Linked DNA regions of Homo sapiens: all the other regions are linked to region 2. The links are contacts of gene promoters, found by promoter capture Hi-C in human tissues and cell types (Jung and others, 2019). All regions are on one chromosome and are shown on one strand. Each heading gives the region's core, a stretch centred on a gene start or on the middle of the fragment in contact. The rest is flanking DNA. Distances are from core to core; before and after follow the strand shown. Region 1 has its middle 34 kb from the start of RTL6. Region 2 holds the start of PRR5-ARHGAP8 (PRR5-ARHGAP8 readthrough). Region 3 overlaps PRR5-ARHGAP8 (PRR5-ARHGAP8 readthrough).

Region 1 (3,499 bases), core at 58-2,557, 170 kb before region 2:
ATAACTCATGGCCGACTGTGGTGGCTCACGCCTATAATCCCAGCACTTTGGGAGGCCAAGGCGGGCAGATCACGAGGTCAGGAGATCAAGACCACCCTGGCTAACATGGTGAAACCCCGTCTCTACTAAAAATACAAAAAAATTAGCCGGGCGTGGTGGCAGGCTCCTGTAGTCCCAGCTACTCGGGAGGCTGAGGCAGGAGAATGGCGTGAACCAAGGAGGCAGAGCTTGCAGTGAGCCGAGATCGCACCATTGCACTCCAGCCTGGGTGACAGAGCGAGACTCCATCTCAACAAAAAAATAAATAAAAATAAATAAATAACTCATTTAATTCTTACAGCAACTGTATGTGGTCAGCGCAGTTTTCAAACTTATTTTACAGATAAGGAAACGGAGGCCCCAAGAAGTAAATAAGTTGCTGGGCACAGTGGCTCATGGCTGTAATCCCAGAACTTTGGGAGGCCGAGGCGGGTGGATCACCTGAGGTCAGGAGTTCGAGACCAGCCTGGCCAACATGGCGAAACCCCGTCTCTACTAAAAATACAAAAATTAGCCAGGTGTGGTGGCATGCACCTGTAATCCCAGCTACACGGGAGGCTGAGACAGGAGACTCGCTCGAACCTGGGAGGTGGAGGTTGCAGTGAGCTGAGATTGCGCTACTGCACTTCAGCCTGGGCAACAAGAACAAGATTCCGTCTCATAAAAAAAAAAAAGAGAGAGAGAGAGATAAATAAGTTGTCTCTGATGAATCACCAGTGCCTGGCAGAGCCCAGATCTGAACCTGTGCAGCTTGGCTCTGGCACCCAGATGTTTATTCACACTGGTGGCAGAGATTTGGCTCCGTAAAGCCGTTAACAACCCAGATAACGGAATGTCTGCAGCCCTTAAAAAGACACAGTCAAGCAGGTTAAATGGTCAGTCCTCAACCTTTCCTTTTGCTGAACAGCCACTGTAGATGGTGTCCCATACCCCTCTCCCCTGAGCACACCCCCTGACCAGTGCAGCACACACCACCTGTCATGTGACCACGGCCACGAGCACCCCCTCATTCCAGCTAAGCAAATGCCTCAGAGCCCCTGTACCTGATGTCGACCTTGAACTCATGATGATTTCTGAAAAAGGTCATGGACTTTCCAAAGCATCAGCATATAAAATGCTTACAAGCCTTCATGCATCCGTGGTGGCCATTATTTTAAAGGGTTTTTTGTTGTTGTTGTTGTTTTATTGAGACAGAGTCTTGCTCTGTCACCAGGCTGGAGTGCAGTGGTGTGATCTTGGCTCCTGGCAACCTCCACCTCCCAGGTTCAAGCAATTGTCCTGCCTCAGCCTCCCGAGTAGCTGGGTCCACAGGTGCACACCACCACGCCCAGCTAATTTTTGTATTTTTAGTAGAGACGGGGTTTCACCATGTTGGCCAGGATGGTCTCGATCTCTTGACCTTGTGATCCCCCTGCCTCGGCCTCCCAAAGTGCTGAGATTACAGGCGTGAGCCACTGCGCCCAGCCTATTATTTCTTGATGTAGAGAAGAAGCTGTGTGTGTGTGTTTACAGAGAGGGATAGGGATCCCAAATTTGGAAGGAAGGAAGAAAAGGAAGGAGGGAGAGAAGAGAGGGAGAAAGAGAAGGGAAGACAAGGAAAGTGAAAAGAAGCAAAATAAATATCCTCCCACACATAGCCCTGTTGGGTTGTTTTGTCTGTTCTGGTTTCACATATAAATGTCATCTTGGAATGGGTCATCTTTTCTGTCTGATGTTTTCCACTCAACACTGAGAGAGTCATCGTCGCTGCTGCCTTTGTCTGTGGCACCTGCGTTCTTGTTATTGTGAAGTATTCCATTGTGTGGCTCTCCCAAGTGCACCTCTCCACCCACTGTGATGGGCGTACGGGTGGACTTCTAGTCTGAAACGGTCAGGAACACCCCAGTGGGTGTCTCTGCACCTGCGGTGAGCAGCTGTGTGCATTTCCGCCCTCTGCAAACATCCTTCGGAGCAGGATGGCCGGGTCACTGCGGGGCTCAGGTTCAGCTTAGTAGATACTGCCAAGTGGTTTTCAAAATGGCTGAGCCGGTTTCCAATCCTGCCAGCATTTATTTCATCTATGGCACAGAGGCTATGATTATTGCAGGGAGGAGCAGAGACTAGAAGGGGCGTGGAGGAGGTTTTTTGTTTGTTTTGGATTGTTCGGTTTTGGTGTTGGTTTTGGTTTCAGAGACAGGGTCTCACTCTGTCACCCAGGCTGGAGTTCAGTGGCGTGATCTTAGCTCACTGCAGCCTCCATCTCCCAGGCTCAAGTGAACTTCCCACCTCAGCCTCCCGAGTAGCTGGGACTACAGGTGTGCGCCACCACCCCTGGCTAGTTTTTTTTGGTATTTTTTTGTAGAGACAAGGGTCTCACTTGGTTGCCCAGGCTGGTCTCGAACTCCTGGGCTCAAGCAATCCCCACTCCTCGACCTCCCAAAGTACTGGGACTACAGGCATGAGCCACCATGCCAGGAGGCAGTTTTTGAGGTGCTGATAACATTGTATCCAGATCTGGGTGCTGGATACATGGGTCTGTAACCATTGACAATTCACCCAGCTACACACTCAGAATTGGTGCACTTTTCTAGATACATATTATACTTCAATATGTTTTAGAAGAAATATGTCCATAAACGCAGATACATATACACAACTCTGCAGCAAGGGGCATGAAAAATTAAAAAATAAATAATAAATATTTTTAAAAGATACATGGCTGCATGTGGTGGCTCACGCCTGTAGTCCCAGTACTTTGGGAGGCTGCGGCTTGAGCCTAGGAGTTCCAGACCAGCCTGGACAACAAAGTGAGACCTTGTGTCTACAAAAAAAGTTTTAAAATTAGCCAGCTGCGGTGGCATGCGGGTATGGTCCCAGCTACACAGGAGGCTGAGGCAGGAGGATCGCCGTAGCCCAGGAGGTTGAGGCTACAGTGAGCTGAGATCGTGCCACTGCCCTCCAGCCTGGGTAACAGAGTGAGATCTTGTCTCAAAAAAAAAAAAAAAAGATAAACGCATGAGTCAAATGTCCCCACGTCCTCTAGTTATTGCCATCTTTCCCCTTAATACGCAAATATGTATGGGTCACCTGCTATGTGCCAGACACTGGGTGTACAGTGGTTCGCCAGACAGTGCTTGCACACACAGGGCATACATGCTAGGGGCAGGAAAAAATCATACACAAGTAGCCAGATAGGCACATCAATGATGGCGGCTGTGACGTGTGCTCTGAAACAAAAGGGGCTGCAGAGAGGAATGAAGGATCCAGCCTTCACTTAGCCAGGTCATCCAGAAAAAGCTGTCCTCGTGGGGCCAGGGGGCCCAGCCAGGAGGAAGTAGCAGGTAACAAGTATCCTGGGTACTGGGAACAAGAGGAGAAGATCTTGGGGCACCCAGGGACCAGCAAAGAAGCTGTAGGCCTGAGGGCCAAAGAGCAAGGCAGGGGAATGGCGCAAGGCAGGGTGAGGAGGCAGCTGGAGGAA
Region 2 (3,957 bases), core at 1,433-3,932:
CAGTGGGGTCCAATGTAATCCCTTTATTCTTATGAGATAAATGTTCATCCATCCGTTAAACCAAATATCTATGAAGCACCCAGTCTGTGCTAGGCACGGGGACTGTAGCAGTGAACAAGTTGTTACGGTTCTTGCCCTCCTGGCTTATGGCATAGGATGGAAAAAAAGTCATCGGGTGACAACAGGACGCCCCCTGAGCCTAATTGAGAGTGAAGGCGGTCAGAGACAGGGGCAACTAACTTCTCTGAAAGACGTTCTAGGGCAGGGGAGGGACCCGCAGCTGGAGGGCAAGCAGGTCTCAAAGGCCCCTCCGAGGAGTCAAGGATCTGGGCTTTATCCTCTGTTTTCATTCTTTTCAGAGACAATTCAGTACATGCTTTAGTATTTTTATATGTTTTTTGTTGTTGTTTTTGTTTTTTTTTTTACAGCAGTAAGGTAGGAAATCCTTGTCTGGCCATGAAATTTGGTTTGGGATCTAAAAGATACAGTGTTCCCGTAAGTTTGAGAGCGTGGGCTAGGCACAGTAGTTCATGCCTGTAATCCTAACACTATGGGTGGCCAAAAGTGGGAGGACTCCTTGAGTCCAGAAGTTTGAGACCAGCCTGGGCAACATAGCAAGACCTTGTCTCTATTACAAAATTTTTTAAAAATTAGCCAGGGAGCCGGGCACAGTGGTTCATTCTTGTAATCCCAGCACTTTAGGAGGCCGAGGTGGGAGGATCACCTGAGGTCAGGAGTTTAAGACCAGCCTGGCCAACATGGTGAAACCCCATCTCTACTAATAAATAAAAAAATCAGCCAGGCGTGGTGGTAGGTGCCTATAATCTCAGCTACTCACTAGATTGAGGCAGGAGAATCACTTGAACCTGGGAGGCAGAGGTTAGCAGTGAGCCATGATTGCGCCATTGCACTCCACAGGCGACAAGAGCGAAACGCCATCACACACGCAAAAAATCAGCCAGGCATGGTGGCACATGCCTTGTAGTCCCAGCTATTCAGGAGGCTAACGTGGGAGGGTTGCTTGAACCCAGGAGGTAGAGGCTGCAGTGACCACAGTGGTGCCACTGCATTCAACCTGGGCCAAAAAGTGAGACTCTGTCTCAAAAAGAAAAGAAAACGTGTACAGCACTTGACAGTTAGTTTATAAAGCACCTGTTGCTGCCTGTGGGCCCCAAGCTGCCTGTGAGATGAACCGTTCCATCCCGCTTTACTGATGAGCAAGTTTGTCTGTTTATGTCTCTGTCTCCCAAAGACGATGGTATTTATGTCTGGAACACAGGAGGTACTCAGGAGACACTGGTTGATTTGCACTAAACAAAGACTCTTCATGAGGCTCTCTTACTTTTTATTTTATTTTATTATGATGATGATGATTTTTGAGACGGAGTTTTGCTGTTGTTGCCCAGGCTGGAGTGCAGTGGCGAGATCTCAGCTCTCTGCAACCTCTGCCTCCCAGGTTCAAGCGATTCTCCTGTCTCAGCCTCCTGAGTAGCTGGGATTACGGGCATGCACCACCACGCCCAGCTAATTTTGTATTTTTAATAGAGATGGGGTTTCTCCATGTTGGCCGGGCTGGTCTTGAACTCCTGACCTCAGGTGATCCTCCCACCTCGGCCTCCCAAAGTGCTGGGATTACAGGCATGAGCCATCACCTCTCTCTTACATTTTATATGGGGCCCTCCCAGCTCCTGGAGCTGTGGCTGTCACCCCCCATCTGATGGAGGGGTCAGGTGAGCCTTGTGGGAATCCCAGAAGCTGGGGACTGGGAAGGGCCCTGTTCAAGGGGCTGGACGCTCCCTGTGGTGAAGCCCAACTCTACCATTTGTTGATTGCACAATGTTGGCACAATGTTGGGCAAGTTATTTCACTCTGTGAGCCTCAATGTCCTCAACTGGAAAATGGGGAGAAGAATAATCTCTACCTCACGGAAGTAGTTCATGTTAGTTCATGTGAAATCAGACATCTAAAAGTGCTCTGCGAAGCAGGCAGGAAGCACCGGCTGTGCCCTGCCTTCACTGGGATCACTCTGCCCCCACCACAGGGACTTGGGAAACTGCTTGGTTTTACCATCCAAGAGACCTGGGGGTGGGAGATAAGGAGCAAACCCTCTACTTCTTCAAGCCCTCACTCCAGCAAATCCTCCAGGCAGCCAGGCAATGCTGAAGTCCCTGTCCAAGGGGGTCTAGGCTGAGCCCGGGTGGAGTGGGTTCTTGGGCCAAGGTGCCTGGAGGGGACTGAAGGCCTCTACCCAAAGTCCTCATGAGAACTGGGTGGGGGAGCCTGTGTTCAGGTGAGGGGTACGGAGGCACCTCTGTGGCACAGCCTTTGCGAGGAGGGCTGTGGAGGGAGACCTCCGGGGCCGGGGTCGAAGGACATCGTGTGGGCGCGACCGCAGTGCTGGGCGGGGGGCGGGCGCTTGGGCTTGGGCCCTGCGTCCTGTGCGTGTTGGTTTCCTGTGGGCACGTGGGGCCCTCGGAAGAGGGGAGGAGGGTGAGCACGTCCTCAGAGGGCAGACCCAGCGAGGCGTCGTGGCAGCTGCGGCCGCGGAGACGCCGGCTCCGCCTCTTGCACACGCCCCCTCGCCTGAGGCCCCGCCCCGCCCGCGATGCCCCCGCCCCCTTCCCCGCCCCGCCCCCCGGGGCGCCGAGACCCGCCCCTGGGCCCGCCCCCGGGTCCGCCCCCGGCCTCCGTTTGCGCCGGGTCTGTGCTGGCCGCGCGCCTGGCGCTCCACGCTGAGCCTCTCCGTGCAATGATTAACCCGGCGGGGCGGCCGGCGCGGGACCCGAGACGGAGGCGCGGGGCCGGGGCGGGACCCCGCAGGACCGCTCGGCTTCCTGCTCTCGCCGGAGTTTCCGCGTAGAGGGCGCATCGCCGGCCCGGGGCCCTTGGTGCGGCGTGGCGCAGGGCGCGGCGTGGGGCGCGCGTGGGCGCGGCGCAGGCGGCCCGGGTCACCATGAGGACTCTCCGCAGGTTGAAGTTCATGAGTTCGCCCAGCCTCAGTGACCTGGGCAAGAGAGAGCCGGCCGCCGCCGCGGACGAGCGGGGCACGCAGCAGCGCCGGGCCTGCGCCAACGCCACCTGGAACAGGTAAGGCCGCGCCCTCCCGGCCACCCGGAGGCCCTGGAGCCGGGGGAGGGGACCCCTGAGCCGTCCGCGGGCTAGGGGCCGCCCCGAGCCAGGAACGCTGCCGAAGGCGGCGCGGCGCTTCACAGTTTGCAAAGAACTTGCCCCGCCGGAGTGGTGCGGGCCTGGAGGAAAGTTCAGTGCAGCGTGGTTCCAGAACCCAGGGAAGGGAGCGAGGCCCGCCAGCGCCCGGGGCTGGCCCAGAAGCGCCCGGCGGGTGGGCGGCGGGGTGGGCCGGGAAGCCGCGTGCCCGCCTCCTACCCGGGGTCTTTCCACGTCTCCACTGCGGTGCTCGTGACAACCTGGGAGGCTAACGGAGCAGGAAGTATTTTTCCCATTTTGCGGCTGAGCACGGGAGCCTCGGGGCTCAGTGGGTGGGTCGCGCAGGCTTCCTGTGTCTCTTTAAGCTCCCTTCGGCTTTCCCTTGAGAGGCCCCCTGTCCTCCAGCTGTCAGCAGGGGGTGCGGCAGCTGCGAGGCATTCTTTAGAGGACTCTCCTCCAGGGGTCATTCCCAGACAAGCAGGGGCCTGGGAAGCCCCTTCTCCCAGCTTTGTTTGAGGAGCAAGTCCGGGATCTGGAAAAGAGACGGTTTATTTAGTGGAACTCCCCAGCGTCTCTGCTCCCTAGGAAAATGAGAGGCAGGAGAAAGTGAGGCAGGCTGTTCGCGGGAGGCAGTGGACACTGTTCGGGGGAGGCTGTGGACACTGTTCGGGGGAGGCTGTGGACGTTGCCCCTCTCGCGCCCACACCTGGCAGTAAAATCTTGCCAGATGCTCCACCGGCTGTGGTCTTGGCCACCGGGAACCCGGCTGTCACTTGGACACACGTTATTTTC
Region 3 (3,899 bases), core at 279-2,778, 130 kb after region 2:
ATAAAAATGATAAGAGCAGACATGGTTGTCTTACTCCTGATCTTAAGAATCAGCAGTTAAGCTGGGCTAAGCAGCATGTACCTATATTCTCAGCTATTTGGGAGATTGAGGTGGGAGGATCACTTGAGGCCGGGAGTTCAAGACTAGCCTGGACAACATAGCAAGACCCTGTGTCTATTAAAAACACACACACACACACACACACAAAAGAATCAACAGTCCTTCACTACTAAGCATAATGTTAGCTGTGTGCATTTCATAGATGCCCTTTATCAGGTTAAGAACCATCTTTTTTCTTTTCTTTTCTTTTCTTTTTTTTTTTTTTTTTTGAGATAGAGTCTCCCTCTGTTGCGTAGGTTGGAGCACAGTGGTGCAATTATAGATCAGTGCAACCTCAGATTCCTGGGCTCCAGTGATCCTCCTGTCTCAGCTTCCCAAGTAGCTGGTACTATAGGTATATACTACCATGCCTGGTTAATTTTTAAATGTGTTTAGTAGAGACAGGGTCTCACTATGTTGCCCAGGCTGGGAACATCATTTCTATTTCTAGTTTGTTGAGTGGTTGGTTGGTTGGTTGGTTGGTTTGTTCATGTAAAGGTGTTAGGTTTTGTGAAATGCTTTTCATCGCCATTGAGATAATCACATGGCTTTTGTCCTTTATACTGTTGATATGGTGTATTATATTGATTGATTTTTACATGTTGAATAAACCTTGTATTCCTGGGATAAATCATTTGTGTTCATGGTGTATAATCTTTTTCATATATTGCTGGATTTGCTTTGCTTGTATTTTGTTGAGGATTTTGTATTTATATTTATAAGAGGTATTAGTTTGTCATTTTCTTGTCTTATGATATCCTTGTCTGGTTTTGGTGATACTGGCCTCAGAATGAGTTGGGAAGTGTTTCCTCCTCTTCTATTTTTTGGAAGAATTTGTACCATATTAGAGTTAATTTGTTAAACATTTTACAGAATTCACCACTGAAGCCATCTGATCTTAGGCTTTACTTTGTGGGAAGTTTTAAAATTACTAATGTAACCTCTTTGCTTGTTATATTTATTCAGATTTTATATTTCTTCTTGAGTCCATTTTGATTGTTTGTGTCTTTCCAGGAATTTGTTCATTTCGTCTAGGTTTTCTAATTAGTTGGCATGTAATTGTTCATAGTACTTCATAATCCTTTTATTTGTATAATGTCACTAGTAATGTTTCCTCTTCCATTCCTGATTTTAGTAATTTGAATCTTCACCCTTTTTTTCTTGGTCAGTCTAGCTAAAAGCTTGTCAATTTGTTGATCTTTTCAAGGAGTCAACTTTTGGTTTTGATGATGTTCTCTGTTATTTTCCTATTTTCTATTTATTTCTACTCCAGTCTTTATTATTTTCTTCCTTCTGCCTGTGTCAGATTTAGTTCATTTTCTTTTTCCAGTTTTTTAAGGTGGAATGTTTATCATTTTAGAATCTTGCTTTTTGCAATGTAAGCATCTATGGCTATAAATTACTAAGTCCTGCAATAGATGTATCTGTTAGTGTATTATTTCCATGATTTTAATTAATCTTAAAGTATTTTCTAATTTATCTTGTAATTTTTTTCTTTGATTCATTGATTTCTAGGAGTCTGTTGTTAAATTTTCACATATCTGTTTTTGATTTTTAATTTTATTTTATTATAATTAGATAACTTACTTTGTATGATTTAACTTCTTTCAGATGTATGGAGGCTTGTTATGTGGTATAACATATGGTCTAGCCTGGAGAATATTCAACGGACACATGAGAAGAGTGTACATTCTATTATTGTTGGGTGGAGTGCTCTATAAATGTCAATTAAGTCTACTTGGTTTTTAGTATTTTTCAGTCTTCTGTTTCTCTGTCAATTTCTGCCTAGTTGTTCTATTTATTATTGAAAGTGGGGGATTGAAGTCTCCAGTATCATTTTAAAATTATTTATTTCTCCCTTCAATTATGTCTGTTTTGGCTCCACATGTTTAGGGGCTGTATTGTTAGGTGCATACATTTTTATGATTCTTACTTTCTTATGAATCCTTGCATGATGATAAAAAAAATGTCCTTCCTTGCCACTAGTAACAATTTTTGTGTTAAAGTCTATTTTGTCGGATATTAATATAGCCATTATAGCTCTTTTTAGTTACTGTTTGCATGGTGTATCTTTGTTCATCTCTTTACTTTCAACCTATTTGTGTCTTTGAATCTAAATTGTGTCTCTTGCAGACAGCATATAATTAGGTCATGTTTTTCCCCATTCCACCTTCTTTATTAGATTATTTAATCCATTTACATTTAGTGTGATTACTGGAGTTACATCTGCCATTTTGCTATTTGTTTTCTATATGTCTTTTTTGTTCCTTTATGTCTTCATTAATACCTTCTTTTGTGTTAAATACATACTTTCTAGTGTACTGTTTCAATTTTTTGTTTCTTTTGCTATATATATATATATATATTTAAAGTATTTTCTCAATTGTTGCCTTAGGGATTAGAATTTATATCTTAATTTATAACCATCTAGTTCTAATTAAGAAGGATTGTGGAGCCAGGCGTGGTGGCTGAAGCCTGTAGTCTCAGCACTTTGGGAGGCCGAGGTGGGCGGATCACGAGATCGAGACACTGAGACCATCCTGGCCAACATGGTGAAACCCCGTCTCTACTAAAAGTACAAAAAAAATTAGCCGGGCATGGTTGCAGGCGCCTATAGGCCCAGCTACTCAGGAGGCTGAGGCAGGAGAATCACTTGAACCGGGGAGGCGGAGGTTGCAGTGAGCCAAGATCGCGCCACTGCACTCCAGCATGGCAACAGAGTGAGAATCAGTCTCAAGAAAAAGAAGGATTGGGGACTTGCAAACTCTTCAGAGAATACAACTTTTGGGTGTTGTCTTCCACCCCGTGCTAACACTCCTTCTTTGCCACTGGAAGAAACTTGATCTGATGGTGATCTTATTAGCAAGCAGGACCATGTGGCCCTTTTAGTTTCTCCTTATCTCCCAGAGCCAAGGTGTTAACTGAGCCAGTGTTCACTTTTGTCAGAAAAGAACTGGTAAGTATCTGTCTTTCTAGTCTCTTTTTTCCTGTGTGCGTAGGATATGCTCTTCTTCGGTCTCCTGTACCATGTGGCTGTCTGGAGACTATACAATCCTTCTCTTTGCGATCGGCCTCCAGGGTGGGACACTGGCCTCCCATAGGCTCTGGTTCTGAGCCGTGTGTGCCAATCTGACTTGCCAGAACCTCTACCCCATTAGAGTTTTGGGGACTGACCTCACTAAGGATACCAAGCAGTTTCTCATTCCCCATCTGCCTGCAAAGAGGGGCAGCCCTGCAGATGTGAGACTACAGGATTCCAGTGCCTTGTTGCCACCTTTCACCTCACGACAGCTCCACCTCATACCAAATCACAACTCTAAATGCAAGACTGTGATCTGTACCTTTTTTTTTTCTTTCTTTCTTTTGAGACAGGGTCTCACTATGTTGCTCAGGTTGGTTTCAAACTCCTGGGGCCAACTAATGTTCCTGCCTCAGCCTCCTGAGTAGCTGGGATTACAGGTGTATTGTCACACTGCTTGTCTTTTGAACCCAGGTATAATGAGGACTTTGAAGTCAGATTTTAACTTGAACCCTGGCTCTAGTCAACCCTAGGCTGTGTGACTCCAGACATAATAATTTGCCTGAGCCTCAGTTTTGTCCTCTATAAAAATGGGGGCACAGTGATGCAGTGAGTGGGCTTTAGTATTGCACGTGGTGCACAGTAGGTCCTCAGTACACAGTAGGTCCTCAGTGCACAGTGGTCACTGTGATCGTTCACATGCACTGCCCATTTCTCTGGGCATCCAGGACCTCCCTGGCTGACTCTGTGACTGAGAACTTTGCAGGTCAGTGGTGCAAGC

Evidence for each region. Contacts are between HindIII fragments. The study calls those that stand out against the background at their distance.
Region 1: a fragment that was not itself captured here is called in contact with the fragment with the promoter of PRR5-ARHGAP8 in region 2 in 2 of the 25 tissues and cell types used here (IMR-90 fibroblasts and lymphoblastoid cells).
Region 3: a contact is called between a fragment that was not itself captured here and the fragment with the promoter of PRR5-ARHGAP8 in region 2, in 1 of the 25 tissues and cell types used here (aorta).

What each region holds. Positions count from the first base shown.
Region 1 is chr22:44,530,895-44,534,393 of GRCh38, forward strand. No RefSeq gene overlaps it. Among named protein-coding and RNA genes, the nearest start is that of RTL6, 34 kb to the left of the region's middle. The HindIII fragment of the contact is 8,689 bases long and covers 1-3,499 here.
Region 2 is chr22:44,699,522-44,703,478 of GRCh38, forward strand. PRR5-ARHGAP8 (PRR5-ARHGAP8 readthrough) reads left to right here and starts at 2,683. Exons shown (of 15, transcript NM_181334.6): 1 at 2,683-3,087. The coding sequence starts at 2,954. It overlaps PRR5 (proline rich 5), which reads left to right and starts at 2,683. Exons shown (of 8, transcript NM_181333.4): 1 at 2,683-3,087. The coding sequence starts at 2,954. RefSeq lists an enhancer at 1-308 and a silencer at 2,557-2,966. The HindIII fragment of the contact is 17,168 bases long and covers 1-3,957 here.
Region 3 is chr22:44,832,786-44,836,684 of GRCh38, forward strand. The region is part of intron 10 of PRR5-ARHGAP8 (PRR5-ARHGAP8 readthrough); the gene reads left to right. The region is part of intron 7 of ARHGAP8 (Rho GTPase activating protein 8); the gene reads left to right. Among named protein-coding and RNA genes, the nearest start is that of ARHGAP8, 82 kb to the left of the region's middle. The HindIII fragment of the contact is 4,769 bases long and covers 1-3,899 here.